Regions from separate parts of the Homo sapiens genome. Here region 2 is linked to region 1. Evidence: promoter capture Hi-C in 16 types of primary human blood cells and fetal thymus (Javierre and others, 2016). All regions are on one chromosome and are shown on one strand. Each heading gives the region's core, a stretch centred on a gene start or on the middle of the fragment in contact. The rest is flanking DNA. Distances are from core to core; before and after follow the strand shown. Region 1 holds the start of SDR16C5 (short chain dehydrogenase/reductase family 16C member 5). Region 2 has its middle 95 kb from the start of LINC01606.

Region 1 (7,053 bases), core at 2,083-4,582:
AGAGACGGGTTTTCACCATGTTAGCCAGGCTGGTCTTGAACTCCTGACTTCAGGTGATCCACCTGCCTTGGCCTCCCAAAGTGTTGGGATTACAGGCATGAGCCACCATGCACAGCCCCAATCCTAAATTCTTATCTGACTTTTTAATATGTGGATATTAATGAATGAAAAAAAGGTTATTCCTTTTCCAATTTCCTTTTCCTGAATATGAGTGAAATTTCGCATCTTTTTAGGCATTTTCAGTAATTTATATTTATTTGCCTATAAATTTCTTTATCAATTTTTCCCACTGTCTTATTTCAATCAGTTTATAGAAATGCTATATATTATGACAAATTATCAATGGTCAACTCTTTATGCAAAACTATTTTCTCCTAGTCTGTTGTTTATCATCTTACTTTGCTTATGATATTTCCTTGCCTAGTCCCAAATTTCAAAACAATTTTTCAATATTGTATTTCAATACCTTCAGAGTGTTGTTTTTTATATTAACACTCTTATTCCATCTGAGTGTCCCGTGTCCTATTTACACTCTGCGTTTGTTTACTGAATTGTGGTTACTCAGGCTTTCTGTTGGGAAGAATGACTCATTTTTGCAGTACCTTCCGTGTGTCATAGCTTAAAGTATCTTTTGCTCTGGTTTCTGGAAATAGGATCCATCTGCTTAATGAAGTCAACCCTCACTGGTAGCTCCTTTCTTTTTTCTAGCACTAATGTGTTTATTTGCATTTTTATATTTTCTCTTTTATTTCAATGGAATTTTGGAAGAAAATAGGATATGAATGCGTATGCTCACTGTGCTATCTGGAATGGAAGCATCTGTGTATGTGTGGCCACAGAAACATTTTTATTATGAGATAAAGATATACACATAATGGAAAATTTGGAAAATACAAAAAGATACAAAGAAATAAATTCAACCAACATTCCACTACTATATTACAAAAAGTGTTAAGATGTTGATGAACTCTCTTCCAGTGTTTCTAATGCATGTACATAAAATTTTCATAGAAATTAGAATCATAGCAAATATATTTAGTCTTGTACTGTGTTTTTTAAACTCATATTCTGTGAAGTGTACTTCATACCCTTGAAAAACATGATTTTATAAAGATGGCTGTAGAGTACTCCATCGGCACATACTTCTTAGGAATTAAAGATCAATTTATTTTGATTAATATACTTGTTTCCTAAAAAGGTACTACTTCACATGATTCAGTGGAGTGGAAAGTCTCTTTCCCATCCCTGACTCTCAGTGACCCAGTTTCCCTTCCTGAAAGGCCACAGACAATACCTGGGTATTTGGTAAAGATAAAGGTGGAATTGGGTCAGAGGATATATCCCTTTCTAATTCCTGAAACATATTTGTTTTCCAGAAATGTATAATTTATACCCCCATATGAAGGCATTCTTTTAAAAAAAAAAAAAAACTTTCAATTTGTAAGGTAAGAAATGTTTTCATATGCATCTCTTTGGCCCTAAGATCAAAGAAATTGAGAATAAGATTAAACCACTTTTTCATGTTTATTAGCCCATGACACATGTTCTATCATAAACTGTCCATTCCTAGCCTTTGCCAAAAGAGACCCTTTAGAAATCCTTTCCCAGCTTTCAGGATTATGGTCAGTCCTCTGAGTTTCCCCCACATCAAGTCAAAGCAGGACCCTTTCCAACCAGCAGGGCCTCTGGCTTCTTTCACTGCGTCACCGGTGCATCCCCCACTACTCACTCTCATCTTTTGTACTGATGAGATTTCTAATAATGCTCCAAATTTCTTTCTTGAGGTCCACCCAGGGCTTCTGACCAGAAAGAAGAGTGACAGCCTAGGATTCTGCTCAGAGAAGCCATGAAGATAATAGGAGGCTGGTGTTTCCCAGTGTCCACTCATCTGAACTCTTGCAGGCAGGCTGCACCATCAAGGGCCCATTACCCGACGTCTCTCTGCCTCAGTCCACTCTCACTCCCAGGTGCTGCTCACCTCCACACCTTAGCCCATTCTGGAAGGCCCTTTGAGTCCAACTGCCTCTCCTCCTGCAGGCTGGTTGTGGACTCTGGAAGCACCTGGGGTGCATGTCTATCACCCGCACTGTTTATGAATGTGTCTCCCTTCTCCCTCAGAAGCCCTGCAACTCCCCAGAGCCCCACACAGCAGTGTCGCTGTGTGGTGACGGCTGACTTGAAACCAATGCACGCACATTTACCCACTCACCTTCCCACACGCCTCGCATAGCTTGCCACAGCTCGCTGCTGCTGCCTAAAGCACACAAGTAACCTCTTAAGTACTGAAAAGACAGTCGAGGGTTTCCCCTGCACCTACTTTTCCAAGCTTATACGACCTGCCTGTTTCTTCTGTCACCCAAATAAAGAACAAATGTGCAGTTCCTCTACTCCAGACCTGTCCCAGATATGGGCTGGCTAAGGCTGCTCTTCGACCCCTCACCACTTTTCCTGTCCTACTCAGCCCCGGGATAAATTTCAAACCCAATCTCATCATGACTCCCCTGTTTTTCTTTCAACATCCCATAATTTATTGTCATTTCTGCCCCTCATTGCCCCCAGAAAAGTTCACCCTCTATTATTAGCATCTCAGTGGTGTCTTGTGCTTATATTAACTCTTTTATTGATTTATTAATGAATGTTTTTCCTTTTTTTTTTTCTTGACAGATATATCATCGCTGTTATCTTCTGGATCGCTGTACACCCAGATGCTTAATATATCTTGATTGGGTCAGAGTGCCTGGTGACTCTTACGCTAGCCTCATTTCTCGGCTTCATCTTGTTAGAACAAATTTCCTCGCCCTCTTCTCCTAGGCCGCCTGCCAGCGCCGCACCCACTCCTGCCCCTGCCTGCACCCCACCCACTTCCCGGGGACTTCCGAGCCCACGCCCACATCCTTTACCTCCAAGGGGCAAGGAAGCTGTTGACTTAAGATCCCATGTGGAGCAGTCAGATGCTGCTGGAGAACTCCCCGCACTGCAGGCTCCAGACACACGACCTGGCCCCTCCCCCGTGGACGCCTATACTGCTCTGTTCTCTAATTCCAGGGTTCCCAACCTCGGGGTTGTGCCTTGCAAATACCTGGGAAACTTTTCTAGCTAATGCCTAGGCCCCTACCAACCCAGAAATTCCCATCTAATAATCTAGGGTACAGCCTAGGCATTGAAACGTTAAGCCTAAGAGAAATCCGGCGCACGCATCCAGTTTCCACCACCGAATTTCCAGCTTCTTAAATCTGCAGGTCCAGAAAAAGAAGATGGGAGTGCTGCCCACGTCGCGCACTGGGGCTACGGCCGGCCCCACCCCTGGCGCTGCCGCGGCAGTCCCGCCCTTGGACTTGGGCGGCGCCTGGATAAACACCTGAACCTGACTGAGCTCCGAGCCAGGGACTCGGGTGCCTGGGGCAGACGAGGCCGGCTTCTCCGCGGACAGCTAGGGAGAGTGTCCTGGGTAAGTTGCCGAGGTCGTCGGTCCTGGGTGCTGGCTCCCGGAGGAGGTCGCGCTGGCGGGGGTCGGGCGAGGCCGCCCTTTGGGCTGGTTTCACGCTGGGTCGCTCGCAAGGGGGCGCGGGTCGCCGAGCCGCGGCAGGACCCACCCGCGAGCTGGTGAGAAAGCAGCTGCACCGGGTAGCGCACGGCTGAGCGTCCCAGAAGCCCGGGCTCCCGTGGCTACGGCTAACGCAGACCCCTCGCCCCCGGGGGTGAGCTGCCAGCCTCCCTCCCCACCCGGAGCAGAGGGCAGGATGCCTCCCCGGACCCTCTTCTTCGGTCCGTTCTGCCCAGGTTCCCTGCTCTCTGCTGCTCAGTGCATCCACCTTCCGGGTGGATATCAACCCCCATATCACCCCTTTCAACCCAAGCTGTGATTGTCAGTCTGTCTGCCCTCCCGTTTCGTCCGGGTGCCCTCACCAGAGCCGACTTGCTGCCGCGCACTGGTATGGGAAGCCGAGGGCGCCTGTTTGGATTGGGTAGGCCGCGAGATAGGGACACCTAGAAGACTTCTGCCAGATTAAATTGTATACGCTCCGTAACATTCTAGGAAAGTCTTTGCAGTAAAATGGAACCGTACATTCACTCTTGTTTGTAAGTATACTATAACCATATTTAATTGATATAGCCAGGGATTATTAATTCATATGCTTAACAGGACCAGTGGAAGTTCTAGCCATTAATTATTTTGCTGTCATTCTGTGCCTGGCACTGTTCTAGAAAGGCCTCCATGTTTTATGGCTGTGCCACATTATTATGGGGATTGAGGAGCAGAGGGGGAGACATGTAAGCTGGCAGGTGTTGAAATCCAAACAGCTCCTCTTGCACCCCCTCCCCAACCCCTTGCACCCCGCAGAGGACTTTGTGCAGGGCAATGCCTTTTTTTTTTTTTTTTTCTAATTTGTTCGAAGGTTTCACACAAGCTAGTAGTGACCACATAATGCTCCTTAAAACTTTACCTATATAAACTGGTTTAATTCTCACAGCTCCTCTGTGTGGTAAGTATTCCTATGCACTATTAGAAACTCCCTTTTTAGAGGAGGAAACTGAGGCACAAGAGATTAAATCATTTCTACCAAAGTTGCAGGGAAAATCAGTGATATATCTGGAATTCCAACCCAAACTTTAATCTCTAGACCTCATTGCCTGTGTGGGTACCCAGCAGGCACCCTAAACTTCAACTGGGGAAGGGAGGTAACTCAGGCTGACAAGCTCTTAGAAATCTAGTAAGCATCTGCCAAGACAGGGTTAAAAGATGGACATATTTTAGGTCTTGCATCAAGCCAACATTGAGACAGTGGAACACTGAAATCTAGAATGTCCTGACATTAAGAGCGTTCATGTCACCCAGGTCAATGTTGAGACTTCTGGCCACTGCTGAGGTGCTGGAGCCCTGTGATGGGAGAAGTAGACCTCTGTCCCTCTATGTGAATTCACATAGTGATATAAAAGGGAATGTGGTGGTCTGACCAACTACTCCTGGTGTGGATTTTCCAAAGTTGGCGACGCCCAGGCTGCTGTCTGAGAAGGGCGCCTAGGGTTTCCCATTACTGTGTGCACAGTCTGACCCTCATCCTTGCAGATCCACAGGTACAGGCTCCATGTATTTGATATGAGAGTCCTCTTTCAGGACACCTTTTCAAGTTCTGCAGTGCCTGAGAGGCCTGATCAATCATTCAAAAGTTACTCTGTGAATGTAAATCAGAGCAAAGATCACAGAGAGTTTGAGGTCTATTTCATCAAAGCATGGATGAAAACGTTCTTCATTTGACCAGAGCATCCATGTTCCTTAGAGCAAACATTCTTATTCTCTGGACAGCCCTGGACACACAGGTCAAACCTGCCTTAAAACAAACTATTTTGTCCCTCTGCCAGGAAAGCTACTGCTCAATATCCCTACCTCCCACCATCATCATTTGGATATCCACTCAAAGGGTCACTTTCCAGCAGACATCTGTTGCTTCCTCTCCCAAGCCCAATCTGAATCAGCTCTCCGATCATCCTCTCCATAGCACACTGCACTTTTCTTTATAACACTATGGCTTATAACGATCTGTTTATTTGTTGAATACGTCTCTTCAACTAGATTACTTGGCTCACCTGCACAGAGATTATGAGAGGCTGCCCATCCCCTCAGCCCCAGTGCCCAGATAGAACCAGCACAGGGTGGATACTCAATAAACATAACACATGAACCAATCTGGCCCTCACCAGCTAACCAGCACAGGGACCCTGAACAAGTCACATACATCTTCTCTTCGATCCTCAGTCTCATCTGTACAATAAGCCAGGAACAACAGCCTGGGTTGCATCGACTCTCGACATTTCCTAAGGGTGTGACCACATACCAAGTCCTCCTGTAGATGAATCTATCCACCCTTACTCATTAACCGCAACTAGGCTGACTTCAGCCAAACTGTGAAGACCTGCTCTTTTTTCATTACTCCCCTCCTGTCTCCTCACACCTGTGCCTTTGTCTGAGCCTCTCAATTAAACACCCCATTCAGAGAAGGCTCCCACCCCCAGCACAGTATGCTGTCTGCTAAATATGTCTTCTGTTCCCATCCTGAAGGAAATAAGACCTTCCCTTCTTTCTCAGCTAGTGGTTAGTAAAGCACACCTTATATATTCATTCACACTAAAGTGTGAGTAACTGGTAGCAGGATGTAAGCACTAAGCTCTGTATGAGTTTGTCAAGGGGAGGCCTTTTATTCATTCAGCAGACCTAGTGGATGCCTTCTTGGTGGGCAGCACTATGAATCTGAGAAATGTGATAACATCTGTAAAGCACTGACTATAAGCCAGGCATTGTGGTCATACGTGGAACATTCTCATTTCATCTGCAAAAACACCCTATGCCACGGGACCAATATAGATGAAGAGACCAAGGCCCAGTGTAAGGCCAAGAGAACCCCCGCCATGGGGTTCACAGGTAGGCAGAGGCAGTGCAGGGCAGGAGTCCAGGTCTGCCTCGCCTGTGACCTTTAATCACACAGAGTGGTAAGTGATATAGAGCTGTTGGTGCGGGGACCTCAGAGCCTAGGGAAGGGCTATCTGGTGCTGATTGCAAATCTGTCGGAAAAGGTCTAGAACATCTGGTTACTTCCTGTCAAATGCTTTCTACAAATAGGACTTTACATTTTCCTCTCAAATCTCAGATTTTAAATAGTAATGCAAAATTAACGAGAATGCAAATGAGAAAGCACAAACATCAAAGGAGAGAAACATAAAGCCAGAGAGGTAGTAATGATGTTATAAACATTGTGATGTGGTCAAGACTTTGAACATAAAATCAGCCAACAGGATTCATTATTATTATGAAGAAAGGCTAACTATGAGCAATAATGAACTTATTCTTTTGTGTTAAATTTGGGTGTGGTGGTTACAGTTCCTGGTTAACAAACATTTCTGTTGTGTACTGCACATAGCAGGCATGCAAATAACATGCTGAGCCTGGGGCCAAGTAAGAAAGCCGAATAAGTATAGTCCCTGTGGCTTCCTCCTCCCACTTTCTGAATACAGAGTCTGCTACCAGGAGAGCTGTTTAAATCACATATCTCAGTTACT
Region 2 (6,870 bases), core at 252-2,751, 810 kb before region 1:
AAAACTGGAATAGACTAACCTTAGCAAAGCTTAAAACAAGTTTTGAAATAATCAAAGTGAGGTGCCAGGAATTTTTAAAAACTTTTTACTTTTAAATAATTCTAGATTTATAGAAAAGTCACAGACATAGTACAAAGAGTTCTCATAGTCTACCATACCACTCTGAACACACCTGATCTTGTCTGATCTCGGAACCTACGCAGGGTTTGGTCTGGTTAGCACTTGGATGAAAGAGTTCTCATATACACTTCACCCAACTTCCCTAATACTAGCATCTTGCATAATCACAGCACAGTTAATGAAATCAGAAAATTAACATTAATATAATGCTATTAACTAAACTTCAAGCCAGACTTTGTTCAAACTTCACCAGTTTTTTGCTAATCTTCTTTTCTGTTCCCACAGTGTATTCAGTTATATCTTTTTAGTCCCCTCCAATTGGCAATACCTCCTCCAATCCTCATTCTTTCCTTGTTTGCTATGACCTTAATACTTTTGATAATTGCTGATCAGTTATTTCATAGAATGGTCCTTACTTTAGATTTCTCATGATTAGACTGAGATTGATTAGACTGAGATTATGCATTTTATGTGAGAATGGCACAGAAGTGATGTTGTGCCTTTCTTAGTGCAGTATATCAGGTCATACATGCTGTCAATGTGCCTTATTACTGATATTTCTAACCTTGAACACTTGATTAAGACAGTGTGTGCAGTTTCTCCACTGTAAAATTACTATTTTTCTTTTATAATTCACCAATATTTTGTGAGAAATAATTTGAGACTACATATGCTGTTTCTCCCCAACATTAATTTTAGTATCCATTGGTGAATCTTGCCTACAGCAATTATTCTTGTGGTATTTGCCTAATAGTAATTTTGTATTTCCTCCATATCTTCTTCATATATTAATTAGAATTATTCTGTAAGGGAAAGCCTTCTCTTTTCACCCATATATGTATTTATTCAATCACTTATTTATATCCACATGGGGTCATGGATACCTGTTTTATTCTATAAGTTATAATCCACACTATTATTGAGATGGGGGAATTCCCTGATATTCCATGCAGGACATGTGGCAGAGGTGTGGCTACTGTGTTCAGCCACCGTGTGCTCAAACCCCCTATGGGAGGGGGAGCAAGCAGATGGGCAGGTGCAGGAGCCGGGGCACGTGCTGTGGGGCTCCGGTCCCATGGTAGCATCTAGGAGTGGGTGGCTGCCCAAGTGGTGTGATGTGTGTTACAGTGTGCTCTTTCAGCTTTGTCTAAAATAAAATAAAGTAAAATAAAATAAAATATAAATATACCCATGGCTAGTATTCTACAGTGACAAAGGGAATAAACCAAAAGCTTACTTTTAGAAATGCCATTAGTTCTGTGGCTTAGTGTACCTTTTAAATCAATAAAATCATATAAGAGAATCATATATTTCATATCCTCTTCAGCTTATAGGAAAAGTGGCATACTCCTTTCCTTGGCCCTTTACCTGACATCTTCAGAATGCCAGAAGTATAACTTAAGTTCTTGTTTGGCACTCATTTATGCTTCCTCTGAGCAAAGAACTCAGAGATCAGCATTTCCATAATAATTTGTCAAAGACAAAAAAAAATTAGCACCTTGACTTCAAGCGTAATTCTAAGAAAGCTTAATCTTTGCACCCCAGGGAGGAGTTGATCCTGGCACACTGGGGCTTCACCATCTCAATCTGGACATTTCACATTGCCCAAGACCTCAGTTGCACATGGAAGTCACAAAAATACTTAGGAATGTTATTGCTGTTTAGGAATGTTAAAATCTGGACTAATGGAAGGGAAAAAAGTCCAGTCCTGGGTACCATTGTGCTTGATCCAAGTAGTTGTTCCTACCCTGCATTCACAGTAGCAACAGGTATGCAGCTATAATTTACCTGGTAGTCAAGGGACAAATACATCTCTGCTAGACTGGAATGAAGTAGTTATGGAAAACACTATTACAAGTTATAACAATACAATAACAACTGCCACCACCGTTGAATGATTTCTGTGTGCTGGAGACTGTTTTAATTTTTAAAATTAATTCATCTCAATTATCACTGAGAGATAATAACAACTGCAAACACTTTGCATAGTCACTTATCTGCCAGGGGCAATTATTTGTTAACTCATTTAATTGCCACAGGAACTCTCTGGAGGCACTATACATATTCCTGTGTAAAGCATGAGGAGCATGAAGCACAGCGTGAATAAGTAATTGCCTGCAGTCTAACAATTGTTAAGTGGAGGAGCAGGCTTTGATCCCAGGCTGGTCCCAGAGTCCACACCCTCCAGTATGATGCCATCCACCTCTATGTCCATTTCAATATCACAGATTTACAAACCTGAAGCTTCCAGAGGACACGATTAAGGCCCAGAGAGAGTGGCTTGCCCAAGATCCCACAGTGAAGGTGCTGCAATTTGAGCCTGGGGTTGACAGAGCCAAAACCTGTAATCTTCATGGCTGTTGGGAAAACATCCAGGCAGACAGCTGCTGCTCTACTATCTGGGGGTGGCCCTTGAGGGTTGTCCAGAATCCACAGTTTGTCACGCAGATAGAAATATCCATTCTCTAATCACGTACAACATATGGTTAAAGACCACTGCCATCTGGCAGAATCAGAAGTCTGGTGCAGAGTATATGTGATGGTCCTTCTTTTCTTCTGTTCAGAGCAGATGCAGTAGTGAAGGTGATGGTCTTTCATGTGAATGGCTAATGGACAGTGACGGGGAGCACTCATGGGACACTCATGGGTCCTGGGCACATAGGCTGATACAGGATAGCTGGCTAATGCTTTTTTCTGTTTCCTCTACTTTAGCCCACTATGTGCAAATGTGAGAGATGGATTGATTTGCTGAAGGATAATTCAGTTCCCATAGTGAAATGGAAGAAAATATCATTGTGGGCATTTACAAGTTGCATGCATCATGCCATGTTTTGGAAGCCAAATCCAAGCTGTTTTGAATGTATTGCCCTATTATAGTCCAAGCAATATAATTAAAAGCTATGGCTAGTATGTAATTGCTAATTGTACAATAACCAGCAGTTTCTTCTGGATTTTAATATTTATTCATAATTTCCCTCACTAAATCAAATTAACCATTTTGGATAGCCAGGGGCTAATTCTGTTGTCATTATTTTTGTCCTACAAATAGACTTCTTACATTCCAGCTGGCCAACTGATATTTGAAGACAGAACTGACTCAATCGTGTTCATTTTATGCTTAGTTAAATAAAAGACACGCAACTTGGGGTTAAATATTGAGTAACTAGATCTATCAAGCCAGCCCAGCATTTCATATTCAATAAACAATGGATGAATCTATGAAGATTGATATATTCTTCATGGGATCCAAACCAGTGAGTAAGTTAGGTGAAATCCTTCTGGAATCAGTTGGACAAGATAGTAATAGAGATAGGGATAATGATTACTTACAGCTATACCTATTTTAATGGCATTCTTCCTCCATAAGATGCTGAATTTCTTAAAGACAATGTTCTTCTTTAGTTACTAATCTTCCTGAGCCAAGCACAGTGCCTAGGGAATAGGGAGTGCTTAATAAATGCTTGTTGAATGAATGAATAAATGAGGTATGTGTGATATATGTGTGTCAAATAGAGGTCGCTAATTAGCTAGAAGTGTTAGCTGTTACAGGAGACAAACTCAGACAGCAAGAAATCTTTTGAGATTTATTCTGAAAAGTATAAGATGGAAATTACATAAAATTTACTAACCATTAACTTCTCCATGTATATGTAGTTATTCATTTTTTTTCACAGAGATATTTACATGCAATAATATAACAACTTACACATAGCGTTCAGCAAGGTTTCAGTGTTGACTTGCAATGTCTTCTTATTAAAGAGGTGGGGAGAACCCTGTGCTAACTGTGACTGTTGTCTATGCTCTGATTCTATCTGAGCCCTCATCAGCCTGTGTCATTACTGATATTCTGCTATACTCTCTGCTACTCCGAGGGCTATGCCTATCCTTATTTGAAAGGATGCTTCCATTTTTATATTTACACTAATTGGAAAAACATTTCAAAAGTTATTTTGAAAACTGGACCAGATTTATCCCTGATCTCACTGACTCATTTCTCTTGTTCTAGTTAATTTGCTGCTTCACAGAGGTGTCTTTCCTTTTCAAAGTATTCTCTGCAAAATAACTGCCCTCCCTCCACTATTTTTCTTTCTCTCTTTTCCTCTTCCTCTTAATGAAAACCTTCTATGCTTTGATGCTGTGAAGATATTAAGTAGATTTTCTTGGATTTTAGTGGGAACACAATAGTTTCCCAAGAAAAATGTCTACCCCATTGCATGTAAGCATTGAGTTTATGAAAAGTGATTTGTGTCATTCAGACTTTCTACTCAGTATAGCAGTCTGTGCTTTTACTGTTGTTTTACTCTTTCCCATTCACCAAGCACAGGCTATATATACACACAATCAAAATACTATAGGTAAAATGTTAATCATTTTTGTAGTCCTCCACAATAAAATTATTTCTGATTATTTGCCTGATTTGCTTCCCTATAAAGTCCATCTTGGAAACCAAGCCCAGGATTGCTATGTGAACTGCCTTGGATTACCTTATCAGTAAGTGACAGGGCTTATTGTCTCCAAGTCAAGATTGTATTTTATTCTTCTAAAGTTTTTGTAAAATAGTTAAAAAGATTTCTCCCAGTTTAACATCAACACCTACTGATGGCAGGATTTTCTAGTGATTCCATCAAATAACTTCTCAATGGGACTTGGATTTTCTACACTTAGCCTGCATCTCTCACTAACAGGTGACCCTCAGCCATCATATGGGAAGTTTCACTCTCTGTAGAATGATGCAGAGGACATCTAAAGCATTCTTGTCCCAGAAGCCTGTGTTTGCAATCGTTTCTGTTGCTCTCCAAGCACGCTTCAATCTTTGAAATGTCTTCTTACAAGGGAGTGATCCACATACCACCATACAGTTTTAAAATTGTTCGGAAGACTGATTGCTTATTTGTGTATAGAGAGTCATTCTTTGTTTTTTGTTTTTTTGTTTGTTTCATTCCAGTCAGCTTTCAATGATCCCAGGGCTGCTCCTCAAGTTTGTGGATTATCCAGGCCACTGGTTCTGTCCTTTCCATCTTCTGTTTGAAGTATTTTGCAATTTCAGTGCATGTGACTTTGTTTGCAGTGTACCAGGGTAGAAAGGAAATAAAATAAAATGAGCCCAGTTTGCTACTTTACATAGTTCTAATATATATTTTATTTAATTCCTTGTTTATTTAGTTTTGTTGTTGAAGTTTTGTAGGGTGAAGAAGGCAGGGTAGAAGATTTGAAAATATTGATTAAAATTGTTTTGCTACTTTCTGTTATGTAAAATTATATATATTCATTGTAATTAGATACAAGAAAAGCCTAATCTCTTTTAGGTTAACCGTTTTAGTTATTTTATTTTATATGTTATAGTTGTTTTTTAGGATAAATTGGAATATGGATATTATTATCTTTTGGATAATGATACAATTTTCTATGTTAAATTCCATTAGTTACCACTTGCTGAGAATATCCAACATGCTAAACTGACTGCCCCTAGTGGTTTTACATTTTATTATTAAGCTGAGAATTAAAGCAAAGCTCAAAGACATCCTGAACAGGTGCATGGCTCCACCATACAGCTGAGCTCATGTGCTGGTTTTCACCATTATTTCTAGCATGGAATGAAGAGTTTAATGGCGAGAAGTCTCTCATTTATAATGACTAAAGCAGATGAAGAGGAAAGATGCCAGTGCCACCAGTGTTTGCTCCTCTGCAGTTCTCTTAGAAGAGCAGCCCACTTTGAATATTATATCTAGAAGACAATTTTTTAACCTAACAAATTAGGAAATATTTTAAAATCAACAATAGCATCAGAGAGGAATAAACAAAAATTTATTTTATACAAGCAGAAGTATAAACTTCGTAAACTTTTTGGCTTACCAAGCAGATGAAGAACCTTAAAAATGTTCCTCTCAGTCTTTGATCCAGTATTCCACTTTGAGGAATAATATTGGAAAAAATTAGAGATGCAACAAAATCCAAGATGATCCAGAGAGCATTATTTATAACGGTAAAGAACAAAATTGAAATAACCTGAATATTTAGCAGGAAAAAGGAAAACTATTTTGTAATTAAAGGAATCATACCATAGAATTTTAGGCCGTCATTTAACATAATGTTTTTGAAAAACTGCTAGAAACATAGGAACCTATTGAGAGGACAGAATTGAATGAGTAAAGAAGAAAATAAAATGTGTAAGAAATACGATAGCAATCACATCTAATATAAATTAGATATATGCATAGAGAGAATAGTTAGAAAATGTACTGAAAGAAAATATACTAACATATTGAACAGCATAATGAATTATTTTTGTTTTCTTCTTTGTACTTTTCTACCATTAAAAAATGTTTTAACATGAACGTATTGTCTTCATAGTAGCAGTATAACATATATAAATGCAAGTATGGATTTTAGTCAACAGAGGCTCAAAAGAAAGGTTTTGGTGTGAGAATTACTTGAGTTTGTGTCCTGCTACTACCACTTACAAGATGGGGAAACTAATCTTTTTAAGACTCAATAAAGAGATTGAGTTAGTAATCAGAAAACTTCCCACAAAGAAAAGCCTAGGATGAAGTGGCTTTACCTGTGAATTGTACCAAAATAAACCTAATAAAGAATTAACATCAATTTGTCACAGATTCTTCCAAACTATAGTAGTGAAGGGAACACTTCTTAACTCAACTTATAAGGCCAATATTTGCTTGATACCAAAACTAAAGACATCACAAGGAAAAAACTATGGACCAATTTTTTTTATTAATATAGATGTCAAAA

What was found. The method cuts DNA at HindIII sites, captures the fragments that hold promoters and counts their contacts. A CHiCAGO score of 5 or more calls a contact.
Region 2: a contact is called between a fragment that was not itself captured here and the fragment with the promoter of SDR16C5 in region 1, in 1 of 17 cell types (total B cells). The highest score is 5.5, in total B cells.

Annotation. Positions count from the first base shown.
Region 1 is chr8:56,316,454-56,323,506 of GRCh38, reverse strand. It overlaps SDR16C5 (short chain dehydrogenase/reductase family 16C member 5), which reads left to right and starts at 3,332. Exons shown (of 7, transcript NM_138969.4): 1 at 3,332-3,448. The HindIII fragment of the contact is 5,835 bases long and covers 2,329-7,053 here.
Region 2 is chr8:57,120,037-57,126,906 of GRCh38, reverse strand. It overlaps the pseudogene RNA5SP266. Among named protein-coding and RNA genes, the nearest start is that of LINC01606, 95 kb to the left of the region's middle. The HindIII fragment of the contact is 294 bases long and covers 1,355-1,648 here.